Linked DNA regions of Homo sapiens: region 1 is linked to region 2. Evidence: promoter capture Hi-C in 16 types of primary human blood cells and fetal thymus (Javierre and others, 2016). All regions are on one chromosome and are shown on one strand. The core of a region is centred on a gene start or on the middle of the fragment in contact, and the rest is flanking DNA. Distances in the headings are between cores, read along the strand shown. Region 1 overlaps USO1 (USO1 vesicle transport factor). Region 2 holds the start of SDAD1-AS1 (SDAD1 antisense RNA 1).

What was found. The method cuts DNA at HindIII sites, captures the fragments that hold promoters and counts their contacts. A CHiCAGO score of 5 or more calls a contact.
Region 1: a fragment that was not itself captured here is called in contact with the fragment with the promoter of SDAD1-AS1 in region 2 in 1 of 17 cell types (M2 macrophages); the score reaches 5.7 in M2 macrophages.

Annotation. Positions count from the first base shown.
Region 1 is chr4:75,783,587-75,787,560 of GRCh38, forward strand. It overlaps USO1 (USO1 vesicle transport factor), which reads left to right. Exons shown (of 24, transcript NM_003715.4): 10 at 3,476-3,616. Among named protein-coding and RNA genes, the nearest start is that of USO1, 61 kb to the left of the region's middle. The HindIII fragment of the contact is 2,488 bases long and covers 1,349-3,836 here.
Region 2 is chr4:75,979,381-75,983,597 of GRCh38, forward strand. SDAD1-AS1 (SDAD1 antisense RNA 1) reads left to right here and starts at 1,410. Exons shown (of 3, transcript NR_125906.1): 1 at 1,410-1,585. It overlaps SDAD1 (SDA1 domain containing 1), which reads right to left. Exons shown (of 22, transcript NM_018115.4): 2 at 2,553-2,657; 3 at 1,992-2,090. The HindIII fragment of the contact is 11,776 bases long and covers 1-4,217 here.

The DNA.
Region 1 (3,974 bases), core at 1,343-3,842, 190 kb before region 2:
TGTCTCTGAATTATACCTGTGTTTCTCGGAAGTTGTGGACCTAACTAGATGGTTAGGTCCGCTAGTAATTAGAGGCTGAATGTTGTCCCATGCCATGGGAGTTGCCTGCATAGGACTGATAATTAGGGTAATCTGTGTCCCAGTTTGCCAGTACATTACTCGTTTTGTAATTACTAATAGCATCCTCTTTCACTTCAAAAGTGTCCTGGTTTGGATTATAAATTATGCAGTTACCCTAGTTAGAATATGCCTAAAAACTGTTACAAAAGTATTTACCAGGAGAACTTAGTTACAGAGTCTATTTGTACTCCCAACTCATCATTTCTGTTTTCAAATGTTGGTATTATACATTTAAGAAGTTAATAGTTTTTTAATGTTTTAGAAACAGTGTCACCAAGTGGTAACCTTGATACCTTTGTTCAAAACTGCTTTATTTTGTTTTGTTTTGTTTAAGAGACAGGTTCTTACTTAGTTGCCTAGGCTGAGTGCAGTGGTGTCTTCACAGCTTATTGCAGCCTCAACCTCCCTGGCTCAAGAAATCCCCCCACCTCAGCATCCTGAATAGCTGGGACTACAGGCGCAAGCCACCAGACCTGACTGGATTTTTTATTTTTAGTAGACATGAGGTCTCACTGTATTGCCAGGCTGGTCAGGAATTCCTGAGCTCAAGCAATTCTCCTGCCTCAGCTTCCCAAAGTGCTGCTGTTATAGGTGTGAGCCACATGCCCGGCCTACACTGCTTTCTTAAATAAGGAAATTCCTCTAGAAAAGTAATTTCCAAAATGTGATTAGAGAGGGTGAGAGAATCTGATGATATAAAAAAGCATGTATTTCGTATCAAACAGTGAAAATTTAAATTGTTTGAGGAAGCTACACATGTTTTATGGTTTAGGGTACTATGTAAAGAATTATTCTGAAGGAAGTGTCACTGTTAAAAAGTAAAGTAGGTCAGGTGTGGTGACTCACACCTATGATCCCAGCACTTGGGGAGCCCAAGGCAGGTGGGGATCACTTGAGCTTAGGAGTTTGAGACCAACCTAGGCAACATGGTCTTTATCAGCCCGGTGTGGTGGTGTCCACCTATTGTCCCAACTACTCAGGAGGCTGAAGGGGAGGATCACTTAAGCCCAGGAGGTTGAGGCTGCATTGAACCATAATCACGCCACGCACTCCAGCCTGGGAACAGAGTGAGACTCTATCTCAGGAAAAAAAAAAAAAATTACCAAAAAATTATTAGAGTACAGCATGTAAACAGAAAAATACAGTATTCTCGTTATATAACAAGTTGATTCTTTAAGAATTCTTTACTTTTAAAAAGTGAATAAACTGACTTTCTGTAGCTTAGTAAAGCTTTTATCTCTTACACTTGTCGTGAAGACCGTAAACTCCAAAGCAGAGGAACTGAGTTTAATTCATTTTAATATATTCTCCACCTGCAATACTGAATAGTAGATTCACTCATGACTTTACAGGCCAGGAGTTATCTTCTGCTATTCTGTTAGAACCTGTTGGAATACTTTATGTATAACTTTATTTAGAGTTGCTTGGATTTTAAGTTCTCTATTATACACTAAATAAAAATGCATCATTGTTTTCCTGTTGGGACATACACATTCTGTGTTGGAACTATTCATCATCACAGTTATCATGATTGCATTCTGAGCTACTAAAAACAGAATTGATCTGCTTGCTGAGTTTTAATTCAAATTTTGCAGACTATATTTAGGGAAAACATCTTTTGAAAAGTTTTTTAGTTATAAAATATTTTATTTTTTTAAAAAATTATAGTTTTATGGCTAGTCTACTTTTTATCCCTGCAGGAGTCTCTTCTATGGCATTTTATTGGGAAGATACTGCCAATAGCTCCCAGAAAGTTCATAACCTTATAAGATAATCATTTTCATTCTAGGGTAGTTTTAATTATTAGAAACTTTATATATTAAGTCATAAACTGTCCTGATATGACTTCTGTAAATTTACTTTTGCTTTCTGGAATGACACATGTTCATTCCTTGTGAATATTTCATATATTTACATGTTGCTATTAGATCTCTTTTTATCCTCATAAATATTCCCTTTTTCTTTATTTACATCATCAGTAAAGACACTCAACTGCTATTAGAGGATAGTAGAAAATTACTGTTGATTTTGTCCATTGTAATAATGGTATGATTATATTTCAAAAAATATCAAGTGGAGATGCATACAGAATTATTTGTGGTACAATTGACATATTGCGTAGTATTTGTTTTAAATACTCAAAAAAAGAAGGAAAAGAAGTAGTAAGGATAGGAGGGAAATAAATTAAGGGAGGAAAAAACACCAGAAATCTCACTAGAAAAGTCCAAGGACAGGAACCAATGTAATCCTGACCTTCTCTTTAGTGACATCAATTTATTAATGAACCCTCTTTGAGATGTCTGTTAAGCCAGACATGGAAACATCTAAATCTGTTTTGTCATTACTCACTGAGTTAACTACTGGTTGAAGTTTTTCTCTAATTCTAGTGATTTCTGGTTACCTTTTTATTCACCAACAATAAAAAGTACCACTTTTCAAACTTTTTTTTGTTTTAGTATTTAACTCCTCCCTCACAAAAAATCCCCTTTCTTAGTGGAGTCAATCCATAGATCACAATATGTGTCGGCTGTAGTAATACAAGTGTTTTAGTTTACTCTCTTAAATCATTGATTACTTCTGTGTATCTCCTATAAAATAATGGTTAATGTTTGTATAGCACTTTGTTGTTAACAAGGTATTATCATAAATACCCCCATTTGATCTTGATTTAGAAGATTTTGCACATATATATACACATAACTCTAGTTTTAAAATGTGACACACATGTAAAATGAATTTGGAGACATAACTGTGTTAAATAGTTATTTGAGATGACTTTTTTCATGTTTCTGAAATTTTATGTTTACAGTCCAAGTAATCATAGAATCATAGGGATTTAATTGGCATTAGCAATCAATGCAGCCCACCCCATGCCTAATACATGAATCTTTTACCATCTCTCCAGTTTTGGTTTTAGCCTCTCTTTAAATATTTCCAGTTTAGGGGAGATTTATCACACATCAGGTCATTCTGTTTTCAGACCTGCTCTCTTACTAGGTAGTTCATTATTAACTTTGAAAAGAAATCTGCCACTCTGTAACTTATTCATTCATTTACTTATTAAATATGTACTGTTACAAGTACTATGCTTCTTTGGGAAACAAAAATGACCAAGGCAGTTTCTCTCTGGGAGTTCACAGTCACCTGAAGAAGACAACCTTAAGTTTAAGAGGCATAATGTAATATTACTATCACAGAACTTATTGCCATGGGAGCACGAAAGAAAGAGCACCTAAATGTAGCTAAGCAGCTAAGGGAGTACTTCATGCAGACTTTCTTGTTCACATAGATCAGATTTGCCTCAAGCCTTTTCAAATCTTTAAAAGACAAATTTTGTTTTCTCTTTCTTTCACAGCTTGTTCGTGTATTGGTATCTCCCACCAACCCTCCTGGTGCTACCAGTAGCTGCCAGAAGGCTATGTTCCAGTGTGGGTTATTGCAGCAGCTTTGTACTATCCTAATGGCTACTGGGGTTCCTGCTGATATCCTGACTGAGGTAAAGCAAATGAAGTCAAAGCCAACTCTGTGGAAGTTGAAATCCTGAATCCTAGGAAGAATTAGATATTTGTTGAAGGAAAAACTACAATAGTTAACCATTTTTTAGGTTAAAATTTTTAATGATCTTACTAAAATATAATTCACATAATGATAAAAGTATTGATTCCAAAAGATATACTCATCCCTCAAGTTTTATAGTACATAAATAATAATGTTAAAGCTTTGCAGATCCATCTACAAAGATTTCTCATTAATTTTGTTATATTCAACAGGAGTGCACAGTATGATTTCGTTTTTATTTTGAGAACAAAGTGACTTAGTCTTACTCAACCGGCAGATTCATTGAATAGTAAATT
Region 2 (4,217 bases), core at 160-2,659:
TTCTTCCAGTGTGTTCAATGCTTCCTCTAAAGAGCAATGCTAACTATACAGACGCAATCCTTTATCTCCTAGTAAAGGAAATCTCTATTATTATTATTATTTTTTTTTTTTGAGACAGAGGCTGGAGTGCAATGGCGCGATCTCGGCTCACTGCAACCTCCGCCTCCCAGGTTCAAGCAATTCTCCTGACTGAGCCTCCCAAGTAGCTGGGATTACAGGCACGCACCACCATGCCCGGCTTATTTTGTATTTTTAGTAGAGACAGGGTTTCTCCATGTAGGTCAGGCTGGTCTCGAACTCCCGACCTCAGGTGATCCTCCTGCCTCGGCCTCCCAAAGTGCTGGGATTACAGGCGTGAGCCACCGCGCCTGGCGGAAATCTTTATTATTTTTTAAAAACCTACTAATCATCATAAAGCACTATAAAGAAATATACATACACATTTTTTTCCATTTAAAAAAAAATTTAGAGGTGGGATCTTGCTATGTTGCCTAGGCTGCAGTGTAGTGGCTATTCACAGGCATGCTCATACCACACCTCAGCCTCAAACTCCTGACCTCAAGCAATCCTCCTGCCTCAGCCTCCCAAGAAGCCGGGACTACAGGTGCACCTGGCATATATATTAATTTAATAATGCCCACAGACCAGTTTGGTGGGGTACTGCCAGGAAAATAAAACTTAAAGAAATCCTAATTACTTGGAAAGCCATTAAGTCTCTATACTCAAAATATCAAATCTCTATGACCTACAAGGACTTCAAGAGTAACATGACATAGGTAAAAGCCTTTAGACTAGGGGTTCAAGTTTGGAGTCCCTTGGGCTATACTGCCAGGTCCCATGTACCAGCTGAGTATCAATCAGTTGACAACCCAGGGCCTGAAACCTTGGCTTGTCTGAGACAGTATTCTTTTTCTTTTTGGCCTAATCAAATTACTAAAATCCTAAAGTAGTATAAAAATGATAGAAATACAAAAAACCTGAGAAAGTCTAAAAGAAAACAAATATTCATCTAAAGACTTGGCATTTCTACAAGTTGTGCTATAGGATATTAGTACGTTTTGTGATCATATTTGCGTACTTATCTGCTGTAAAGAGGTTTGAAAAGCAGATGTATTAAATTTGGAAATGTCTTAGTCCCTAGAAGCAGAGACTGATTTATTACAAGTGATTTGTTGGGGGTATGATCTCAGAAAGGAAGTGAAGGAAGGAGGATAGTGCAGAGACACGCAAAGCAAAGCAAGGATGTGCCCTTGACTGGAGACTAGCTTTAGTCCCAACACAGGAAAACACTGGAGCACATCCTGCATTGGAGTCAGAGCCACCCTGAGGTAATGGGCTGGGCTTTTGTACCACATGATAATGGGCTGTGGGCTACTAGGGTAGGAGGACACCTCCCAGGCACTAGGACTCCGATTTAGCTGAGGACAATGTTGCAGAGAAAGGGCAGCTGAGGGCCACCAGCAGCTGACATTCACAACAAGTGGGGCAAACAGGTACACCGGCCTCGTGAAGGGAATGTCAGCCAGGACTCAACCCCAACCACTAAAAGGACAATGATGAAATGCTCAAACTGACTGTCTAATGGGTAAGTTTACTAATTTAAGGCATTATAAAAATGACAAGTTGTGATTAGGATTCTACATGCATATGAGATTTGAATGACTAGAAGAAATCATCTCAAAAGGTTAAAGAGCATCCTGTAGGGTTAGTGTGCTGGAAGAATAGAAAGATCACAGTGTAGCTGAAAACAATATGATATCAGAAACACAGGCTGGAAGCAGATCATGCAGGCACTTTTGAGCCAGGTTATTAAGTTTCCGTTTTACTCTAAGTATAAATGAGAAGCCATAGAAGGATTTTTAGGAAAGGATAATACATTATAATTTACGTTTTCTGAAGATAATTAGCTTAGAGGCTGTTCTCATTTAAATATATATGAACGCAGCACACATGAACACAGCACAATTTATTCATCCAACTACTGGTCCTACCATTCGCAGATCTGGATCCAATACGGTATGATTGCAGGAGAGAAGATCTTTCACCTCTTGAGGAAAATTACTTAGGTACTCTGGGTAGCAGTGACTAATCTGTAACAAAGCAAAGGCTCTTCTGAAGTTGCTCTCTTTCTCTCCTATAATTCAGATGCATACATTTAGGATGTTCTGCAAAACGAGAGTAAAAGGCTATGTTTCATAGAAGTAGATGGTTCCAAACAACCTTCTTTTCCTTCTACATGTTAATTTCTCCAACATTTATCATGGTTTCTCTAGTCTTAGTAATATTTATGGCATGATTTAGTACCTGCTTTTATGATGAATTTGAAGAAAAAAAATAGTCTTAAAGTTTTGTCCTGGTTAGTTATGCAAAAAGATCTAGTGACATTCTCTAACTCATGATAGGGAGAAAATAAAATTTGCAAAAAGGGAAAGTTAGAAAAATATTTTAATTAAGTTCCCATTCCAGAGTGGAATAAGGTTGAGTATTAGTGAAAAAACATTCAGCAAACTGTGTGTTAATACTGGTCTTTATTTAAGCAATTATATTCTTACCTGTGCCATAAACATCACCAGCTCTGCTAGTTCTTTGCTGGGTTTATTTGGTTGCAATTTGAAAATCTCCACATTGGATTTGTAGTGATTATACTGCTGTAGAAACTGCAGAAAAATAAAATTTAAGTTTGTCACATTGTATTACATGACTTTCTCAGTACAGACATTCAGTAGAGAAATTCTTAGTAGAAACTGTTGACGATCACATGGAGAAAAAGATAATGCAAAAGTATATAAAAACACTCCTTTTGCCTTATCTGCATTCTTCAAAGTGCGCTTTTTAAAGACCTGAGCACATCACAGATAATCTAAAGAACTTTTCCTTGGAATTATCACTACAAGTTTAGGCAGCATGGTGTAAGAACAGAGAAGCATGAATCCCAAATTCAGATTGTAGCCCTGTTCTGCCAGTTACTATCTAAATGATCCCGACTGCTGGGTGTAGTGGCTCACACTTGTAATCCCAGCACTTTGGGAGGCCAAAGTGGGAGGATCACTTGAGCCCAGGAGTTCGAGACCAAACTGGGTAACACAGGGAGACCTTGTCTCTACAAAAAATACAAAAATTAGCAGGGTGTGGTGGCGTGCACCTGTAATTCCAGCTACTCAACAGGCTGAAATGGGATGATCACTTGAGCCCAGGGAGGTTGAGACTGCAGTGAGCTATGATCATGCCACTGCACTCCAGCCTAGGCAACACGGAGGCCCTGTCTCACAAAATAAAAATAAAAATAAATGACCCCTACTACCATATCCATGTATGCAGAGCACTCAAATCAGCAGAAAAATAACAGGGCAGAAATATAAATTATATCTCAAGTACATGAAGCTCTCCAGTCAAAATCCCACCCCCCCACTGCCACCCCTTTTTAAAAATTATACTTTTAAGTTCTGGTATACATGTGCAGAATGTGCAGGTTTGTTACACAGGTATACATGTGCCATGGTGGTTTGCTGCACCCATCAACCTGTCATCCACATTAGGTATTTCTCCTAATGCTATCCCTCCCCTAGCCCCCCACCCCAACAGGCCCCAATGTGTGATGTTCCCCTTCCTGTATCCATGTGTCCTCACTGTTCAACTCCCACTTATGAGTGAGAACATGCGGTGTTTGGTTTTCTGTCCTTGTGATAGTTTTCTGAAAATGATGGTTTCCAGCTTCATCCATGTCCCTGCAAGGACATGAACTCATCCTTTTTTATGGCTGCATAGTATTCCATGGTATATATGTGCCATATTTTCTTTATCTAGTCTATCATTGATGGGCATTTGGGTTGGTTCAAAGTCTTTGCTATTGTGAATAGTGCTGCAATAAACATATGTGTACATGTGTATTTACAGTAGAATGATTTATAATCCTTTGGGTATATACCCAGTAATGGGATGGCTGGGTCAAATGGTATTTCTGGTTCTAGATCCTTGAGGAATTGCCACACTGTCTTCCACAATGGTTAAACTAATTTACACTCCCACCAACAGTGTAAAAGAGTTCCTATTTCTCCACATCCTCTCCAGCATCTGCTGTTTCCTGACTTTTTAATGATTGCCATTCTAACTGGCGTGAGATGGTATCTCATTGTAGTTTTGATTTGCATTTCTCTAATGACCAGTGCTGATGAGCTTTTTTTCACTGTTTGTTGGCCGCATAAATGTCTTCTTTTGAG